Linked DNA regions of Homo sapiens: all the other regions are linked to region 1. The links are contacts of gene promoters, found by promoter capture Hi-C in blood cells and fetal thymus (Javierre and others, 2016). All regions are on one chromosome and are shown on one strand. The core of a region is centred on a gene start or on the middle of the fragment in contact, and the rest is flanking DNA. Distances in the headings are between cores, read along the strand shown.

Region 1 (2,871 bases), core at 127-2,626:
AACTGAACTTCCAAACATTTTAATCAATAAGTCAACCCCTACCTTCCCCCATCTTCCTGTTGAGCCACTGTCTTATGCAAGCTTTAAGCAACTTGTGGACTGGTGGCTATATCCATGACCACTCTGTACTTCCTGCAGAATAACTATCATCACATGCTAACTAAATTACTTAACTGTCTGCCTGCCCCACCCGCAGCCACTGGAATGCAAGCTCCTGAGGGCAGTCAATGATTTGTCCACCATGGCATCCCTATGTTCAGCACATCCTAGCCCGTATTAAACCTGATGACTGAAGGAAAGAGTAAAATGGCTGGCTCACAGCAAATACTAAGAAAGGATTTGTGAATGAAATGCCTCTGGCATATTGAGAGAAGCGACTAATGTCAAATGAGCCATTTAAGTTGGTGAAGGACTAATCCTTGCCTGGCGCAGTTAATCTGTAGTGACCTTTCGCATATGGAATCGATATTTTGAGGCTGGGGTGTACAAGTAGGTTCTGAGAATTCTTTATAATGAAGAAGTGATTCCATTTGATAACCACACATGGTAGATGGCACTATTCGGCTCACGGGAGTCTCAGCCCAAGGCTGGCGCAGGGCCGAATGAGCCAGCAGAACTTAAACCAGAGGGAAATAAATCCTATGCTTTGAAAGCCCCTAGAAGAGTAAGCCCCCTCAAGCCCAGGAAAAGAGGCAGAGGACACCCGGCGCAGAGGGAGGCGATCCTAGACACAACCTTTTGTCTGCAGATTATCAAGACTGTGTCCTAGATTCCAAGGTGACAGTGCCACAGGTAGGGTAACAATTCCCTTCATATTTGCAGCGTGTTATAGGCAACAGCGTAGGGCAGGTAACACAATTTTGCATCCCTCCTTAACCAGCATAGCGGCTGAGAAACCTCCCCCAACACGCTCCTTCCACCACTCAAGGTGGCGGGGTGGAGGGCCCAGCAGAACCCAAGAGGCTCTGAGGCCGGCCGGCGACCTTGACGCTGCCGGCCGGGCCCAGGCCACCGCGCGGCGCCTCGCCCCTGCCCCACCCCGACGCTCGCCACACCTCGGTGTTTGCAGAGCCTCGGCCTCGGCCCCGGCCCCGGCGGTCTGGGAGCGGACGCCTAGCCCTGCGCCGGGCGGCCCTGAAGAGGGAAATGCGGCTGCGGGGCCGCGGGGACTTACCTGCAGCAGCACGGCCAGCAGGAAGCACAAGTACATCTGGTAGATGCCCATCTCCCCCACCGCCTGGAACGCCTCCTCCACCTCCATGGCGGGCCGCGCGCAGGAACCCCGCCACCCCACCGCCCTCTCAGGCGCTGCCCTCCCGCCCAGCGCGGCAACCCCTGGGCGCCCGGCACCGGCTTGGACCCGCCGGGGCGGGGATGGAAGCGCTGGCGGCGGGGCCGGGGCGGGCCGGGCCGGGGCGGGGCGCCTGCGCGGGCGGCGGGGCTGTCAGGCTCGAGAGGTGGACGCCGGGCGGGGAGCGGGGAGCGCAGCCGGGCTACGCGGGGCGAGGGGCGAGGAGGGCGTTCGAGATCCGGGGCTGGATGCCCTGGACCCGGGCCTCTGGACTTCCTGTTTAAAAAAAAAATGGTGTTTTGGTGTACGTTTTGTTTTGAGAGGGACCGCTGTCTGCGCCTTAAAGTGAGGAAAGAGGAAGTGGGCCGGGCTGAGGGCCTGAGAAGAAACATCGGGACCGCGTCCGCGTGTGACCCAGGGCTCTGCCTACAGGGGACCCGCAGCTGGCGGGCGGCCTGGCGGCTCTCAGCAATGCCTGTCGTTTTGCCCAAACCAGTTTAATGCGGGGGCTTGGGGAGCCCTAGAGCCTTCAGAGAAAAGTGCTGTCTGTGCAGCATTTCTTTCCAGTCCTATTCTGTGCTAGCCATGGGTTAAGTACACTGGTAGGCAAGCAAATTCTTGTAAAACCGTCGGATACATTTGCTTATAGAAGTATGCACGAGGTACAAAGGAAGTGCAAAAGACGAAGGGGCAGGATGTGATGGCTGCCAAGGTATTTAAAGGATAAACGGCAGTTTGTCAGGTGGAAATTAAAAAAAAAAAGCGTGGCAGGGCCAAGGGACGCTGGACACCTGCGTTAGTCCCCTCATGCCTCCACCTCCTAACCTCATTTGCCTTTTTGTTTATTATGTGTTGTCTTTTTAACAGCTGCATAGTATTCCATTGTCTAGACCATGACTTCTAGTTTAACATTGAATAGAAATGGCGACCAGCTAGTGTCCTTGACCTGCCAGTATCCTTCTTATGCTTCCAAAATTTTCCGTTAATTGTGATGTCTGTTGCAGCGTATTGGTAGCTAGGCTTTACTGGTCAGCTGCTTTCTTTTTTTAGCAATTAAATGAATGCTCACTGTAATTGAATTTATCAGTGGGTTGGAAACTGTAAACTCTATAAACTCTTAAGATTTTTTTCTCTCTCTTACTTAAGGAAACGTTTTCTGTATAAGTACTATTAATAGTTTAAAAAGTTTCCTTCTTTGGCTGTTTCCTACGAATCCTCATTATTAATAAATGCTGAAGTTTAATAAGTGCTTTTTGCATTTATTGACATGATCCTATTGTTTTTCTTCTTGAATCTGATAATCGGGTACATTATGGTAATAGTTTTTTTGATATTGAACTTTACTGGAATAAATCCTATTAATACTTGCTCACGATATTGCTATTTATTGCCAAATTTAATTTGCTAGTGTTTTGTCTAGGGACTTTACATCTGTGACTAGCGAACTAGGCCTATAATTTTCTTTTCTTCCTGATGCTTATGTCTAGATTTGGCAGTAAGATTTTATAGTGCTTTCATAACATGAGTGTGAGTGTTTGGTAAAACTCTCCTGCAACCATCTAGACTTAGCTTGTTTTGCA
Region 2 (2,871 bases), core at 171-2,670, 830 kb after region 1:
TCCATCTCTGAAATTCTGAGGCCTCAGCTCCAAACCAAAATCATATTACTATTATTATTGTTGTTATTTAACATCTGTTCTTTTACACAAGTGCAAAGTACAGCACAATCATTTCATTAGTGCCTTATCATCTGGGGCCCAGTCCCTGTTCACTCCAGAGACTTAATAGAGATGATTTGGAGAAATGCACTGGCATTGCTGTAGCTTTGGTATCATTCCTCCACCCAACGCATGCACCCACCCTTACCATCCAAAGGAAGGGAGTAACAGGAGGTCCACATGAGATTTTGTCAACAGAGCTGATCTTGTGCATAATAACAGCAGTAAAGCAGAGAGAGCCCTATCCTTCCGAACACTGTGGGAATCTGCAGTGCTCACACCTTCAAAGCCCTTGTGAGGAATGATGACAGGAAGACACACCAGAGTGCTCTTGTTCTCCCCCAGGGAGAATGTTTGCAAGTTAGAGAAAATGATGGTCTGTGAGTCTTCCTGTTGGAGAACTTCCCAAGAAGAAGATGATTAACTAGGTAATTTCTGGGAGTGCAGTGGTCCACTTAAGGCATTATCCCAAACCGTTTCTAAAATTCCAGGGAAATAGCACCTTTCCACCTCCACCCCTATTCTAGCACACTCAGGCCACATTCATAGGCCCAAGAGTGTCCTTGAGCATTTCAAATTTGGTAATAACCTCAAGCAAAAGGACACAGGAGATAAATTATCTGCCCATAAAATGGTGTGCAGCATCGTCAGACCTCAGAAGAAAGATCATTCTTTGGAACAAGCCTTCCCCCGCAAACACCTGCTTTCAACATTCACGCTCAGTATTGCTCAGAATCAATAACGGTGGAGTTCTGGAAGCACGCCTGGGGGGTACACTGCTTAAATATTATCAGCTTTCCTGATGCACTAAAAAAAAATTGAACATATAGACTTTTTTCAATTTTTGTTCCACCCTCAGTGCCTGTTACCACTCGCCTGTTAGCCAGAACTAGCATAAGACAAAACAATGAATGAGTAGAAACTATTAATGAAAAAAACTCAGAAACCAATGTGCATTTGTCCTTCAACACCTGGCTTTTTTGTGGCCCCAGGCTGCTTGTGGTTTAATAATGTGTGCACAGAATATAATCATTTGTTTGCTAGGGAAATTGTTCTTTGCTCATTTGAGGAAAATCAATAGGTCATATTTTATGGTATTCTGAAAATCCCTCTTGACTTTCAAGACCTCAGCCCCCTGCCTGGGTAGACTTGGTGGAGGGCACAGGATGTTGAGCTTAGTCTGGTTCCCACCCTTGGGCAAGTTCTTTAAACCCAGTTTCTCCAAGCTTCAGTTTCCAATTCTGTAAAATGGAAATAATATCAGGTCCTCCCTGGGGAACATTTTGAGGACAGAATGTAATCATGTGTGTAATTTGCCTGGTGTAAGCTAAGTGCTCAGCAAATGGTAGTGATCATTATCACAAGGACTAAATGAAAATACGTTTTGAACATGTCCAGCCCAATTCCTCAAGCTTGCAAGGTGATCCAAAAATACCACTCCTTTCCATTCCCTGCAATCACTTTCTGAATTCAGCTTCCCAGATGGCTGTTACTCCACATAAACCGTCCTCAGACTTCCCTGAGCTCTAGGAAGACACCTCTGTTCCCACTTGATACCACTGGGCTCCAGGGCTTCAGTGCCATGTGTAACCTCCTGCCCACAACCACCAGCTGACAGGAAGCTGAGGCTCGGGCAAAAATGAAGCTGGCGAGGGAGGGAGGTGTCCACATATCTACAACCCAAGCAGGTCTTCTGCTCACACATGGCATCCACCTAGGCCCCACGGTCATCCTCTCTCAGCTTTGCCTGCACCAGGCCCAGGAGTTTCAATCCAATGAAAAAAAAAAATTGTAAATGGCTCTCCCTTAAACAAAGAACAAGTCATCTCCATCCAGAAACAGCTAACTCTTGGAAAGACGCGGCCTGGGTGCTGCTCATGAGGTGTTTATCAGTTGGCAAAAGGACTCAGATTAAAAAGGCTCTTCTGGAGAGGAAAAGATGGCTGGCTGGGCAGGAGTGCTGCCCCATAGTGGCTCTAATTTTAGCTTTCTTAAAGTGAATCTAATTGTTTAAACAAGACTAAGCAAGCATGGAATTTGAGAAGGATAAGGAAGAAATTTAAAAAAAAAAAAAAGCAAGAGAATTTTTCCCCTAAAGACCCAAAACAAATCTAAACTGTAAGAATAGCTTTAAGTTAGTCATGAGAAAAAACAAATTCTACAGTGCCGAAAGTATTCAGGGAAAATTAACTTCCTCAGTTCAGTATAATACAGAGGAATTACAAAGGAGCAATGAGCCCAGAGTCCCCACCTTCACTTTGCTTTAGAGAAAAGAAATGCATAGAAAGTTTTCCAGCTCTAACATGTTTCTACTGAGAACACCAGCATCGGCCACTTCATGATTTTTAAAATAAGAAAATCATGGACTCAGTTAGAGCCCCAAGGACCTCACAATAGACCCATATGAAGGGATTTGAGGTGAGACTTTTAATTGATACATTCATTAATTTAGTCATTCAACAAACATTTTGTGGACATCTAGTATGTGCCAGGTACCATGCTAGGCACTGGAGCTACAACCAGGAAGCAGATAGAAATGATGCCTTTCTTCAAGGAGCCTGCAGACTCATGGAGCAGGAAGCTAATAAACCTGCCATATTGGGTGCTTTACAAACACGGAGGATACATGATTTGTTTTGCCCAGAGGAGTCACTGAGCTAAGGGACTGCTTCAGATGAGCGGTGACATTTGCCCTGGACCTTAAAGAGGAAGTAGGAGTTCTTCAGGAAGAGTAGAATCAGGAGATTTTTAAAGTGAGGCATAGAGATGTCC
Region 3 (2,871 bases), core at 218-2,717, 520 kb before region 1:
CTGGTTCTGCCCCTCATTAGCCATGTGACCTTGAGCAAGCCTTATCCTTTCTCGTTCTCGGTTTCTTCATCTGTAAGATTAGGAATACTCATCTCTAATACTAATCTCAAAAATTGTTTTGAGTGTTAAATAGGAACGAATGCATATGAAACTTTAGAGAAGGGCTTGGCAGATGTTTTCTATGAAGGGACAGATAGAAACTATTTTTGGCTTTATTGACCTTACAGGCTCTGTCTCAACTACAGAATTCCACGATTGTAGTAGCGTGGAAGCAGCCATAGGCAATTCATCAAGAGATCAGCAGGGCTGTGTCCACTAAAACTTTATTTTACAAAAACAGGCAGTGGGCTGGGTCTTGCTCATGGGCTGTACTTTGCCTATCCTCACAGCCTGTTTCTGTGAAGCCCGTGAGCTCAGGATGGTTTTATGTTTCTAAAGGGTTGTAAGGAAAAAACAAAGAAAAGGTGACAGTGCCCAGAGCGAGTATTTACCACCGGCTTCTTGGAGAAGCTGGCTGGCTCCGCTCTAGAGCATTGCAGGAAAGTCAGCCCAGGAGGCAGGCAGCTGTGTCCCTGAGTATCAGGGGGCCTGCCTGGTAAGTCACAATGAAACAGACAGTGGCCAGATGACCCCTGGGCCCTATCCAGCTCCAGGGGCTAGGGTCCACATGACTCTGATGACCGAGCTCAGGGGCTAGAGGAGGGAAGGGAAATGGCCCCCTAGTTCTCTTTTCAGTTGTCTATTTCAGATGGTCCTTATGAAAGAGGATCAGCAAAGCTTCCATCAGAAAATGAACCAATAATCAAGTGAATGGGGCTTTCGTTTCCTGAATTGTCTCTAGCCTGTGAGGCTGTGCTTCCATATGGAACTTCTGAGTTCTCTACGAACTCGAACAATGAGTCATGGGCGAGCCCAGGACTCCCACCCACTTGGAGTCATGGGGCTCTGACATGGAGACAAGACCACAGGGTTTCTGTCAGGCCAGAGCCCTGACCCCTCAGCTAAGATGTTTCTTCTTTGTTCTAGATTCAGTCATATAAGCAGAGGCAGCAGGTACTAGGCCTCAGAGTAATAGTCCCTGAAGAAAATAAAGAGAAAGTCTGTCTGAGAAAAGCCAGTTGTGCCAGTTAAAGAATGACCTATGGCCACAATGCCTTACTGGAGGGTGCTTGGGAGCCCATGTCCTCATGTCTGTTGTATCGGGTTAGGGAGATCCTGGTGCATTTCAGTGGGGAGGGGGTTGCTGCTGGTCGTGTTTTCACTCCTTCTCTCTCCTTCCCCAGTGACCCCAAGACAAAATGCTGTTAGGTAAGTGGGGTCTGCTTAGCCCCACTAAGTTCCCCCATCCACCATTAGGAATCAGTGGTATTGTTATAGTCTACCAGGACCGACCTGGTGCTGCTCAGAACCAGGGGCTCAAGGCAGGGCCTCCCTTCATCTTCTTAAATTATTCTCTAGCAGCTCTGAGTCTCCCAAAGATTGGTCCTAGAGAAAAGACTATGTCATTTACTGCTTTTTCTGATGGTAAAAACATGCATATTTACTGCAGAAAATTTGAAAAATAGAGAAATGTGTAAAGAAGAAAACGTACAAAATAACTTTAGACTCAAAACCAATCTGATTAAATCAGGAAATCATTATTTATTGAGCACCTACTATGTGCCAGCCACTGTTGTTCTTGGTGCTGGGGACATAGCAGTGAAAAAAAAACAAAGTCCTCCCCTTCGTGGAGCCTATATTTCAGTAGGGACAGTCAGTACAGTACAGGAAGGGGCTGGGCTGATGGAACAGGATGCCTTTTTTGATAGGGTGGTCAGGACAAGAGGAAGCAAGGGATGCAGCTATTTGGGGAAGAGTGTTTCCAGCAGAAGGAAGAAGACCTGCCCAGGTGTCGGATAAGAGCCTGCTTGGTGCATTCAGGGATACGAAGGAGGCCAGCGTGGCTGAGATGAGGTAGGGGCAGCCGGGGTGAGAACAGGTGGGACTTGCCGGCCATGAAGAGGACCTTGGATTGCTGTTGAGTGAAATGGAAAGCCAAATGTAGGGTCTTGAACAGAAGAGGGACATGATGAGCCTTATGTTTTGAAATGATCATTCTGGACACCAGATGGAAAATAGACAGGGGCTGGGGGTGGGGTTGGCAAGGGGAGAAGCTTGGAAGCCATTTGGTTATTGCGAAAGTCACACAAAGCTGTGAAAGCAGAGCTGGCCTGGTTGAAGGAAGGGTGGAGGTGGGGGGAGGGCCGGCATTTCCTCCCACTGAGCCTCTGCCCTTCCCTTTTCCTGCTCTCTGAGGTTCCACCATGGGACCCCAGGGTACCTAGGATTACAATTTGAAAGCTATTGGACTAGAGGTTCTCTAAGGGCCCTTCCAGCTTTGCCTCCTGTGCTCTTGTGTTTCAGGACCATGCTGATTCTGTGGGACCAGGCCCGGGCTCTACCAGCCAGGCCTCTGAACATGTCAACTTGAGAACTGAACAGGTTCAGGGTCTAGGAAGGGGAGACATTTCAAAATTTTAATTAAAAAATATTTTTAACGTTTAAATTTTTGTAGAGACAGGGTCTTCCCATGTTGCCCAGGCTGGTCTCAAATTTCTGGGCTCAGGTGATCCTCCCGCCTTGGCCTCCCAAAATATTGGGATTACAGACATGAGCCATGAGATTTGGAAACTTAATTCAGCTCCCACATACTAAACGTGGCCAGCCCTGTGTGGGGATTGTAAGAGGGGATAAGTAAGAGGAAATGTCTGCTCCAAGAAACTCACTGGCTGGGATGGGAACTAGGGAATCACACAAATGGCCCAGCCCAAAGTCTGAGAGGCCCCGGCCCCTCCCTGCCTGGCCTTTTTTCCATGTGGCCCCTGAGCCAGT

What was found. The method cuts DNA at HindIII sites, captures the fragments that hold promoters and counts their contacts. A CHiCAGO score of 5 or more calls a contact.
Region 2: a contact is called between a fragment that was not itself captured here and the fragment with the promoter of SLC22A15 in region 1, in 1 of 17 cell types (naive B cells). The highest score is 8.0, in naive B cells.
Region 3: a fragment that was not itself captured here is called in contact with the fragment with the promoter of SLC22A15 in region 1 in 1 of 17 cell types (M2 macrophages); the score reaches 6.4 in M2 macrophages.

What each region holds. Positions count from the first base shown.
Region 1 is chr1:115,975,018-115,977,888 of GRCh38, reverse strand. It overlaps SLC22A15 (solute carrier family 22 member 15), which reads right to left and starts at 1,376. Exons shown (of 12, transcript NM_018420.3): 1 at 1,175-1,376. The coding sequence starts at 1,261. It overlaps LOC101928977 (a long non-coding RNA gene), which reads left to right and starts at 613. Exons shown (of 5, transcript NR_125970.1): 1 at 613-792. RefSeq lists silencers at 990-1,239, 1,300-1,529. The HindIII fragment of the contact is 7,335 bases long and covers 84-2,871 here.
Region 2 is chr1:115,141,948-115,144,818 of GRCh38, reverse strand. No RefSeq gene overlaps it. Among named protein-coding and RNA genes, the nearest start is that of LINC01765, 44 kb to the right of the region's middle. The HindIII fragment of the contact is 186 bases long and covers 1,328-1,513 here.
Region 3 is chr1:116,495,889-116,498,759 of GRCh38, reverse strand. All of the region lies in intron 1 of LOC112268235 (a long non-coding RNA gene), which reads right to left. Among named protein-coding and RNA genes, the nearest start is that of LINC01762, 18 kb to the right of the region's middle. The HindIII fragment of the contact is 1,376 bases long and covers 780-2,155 here.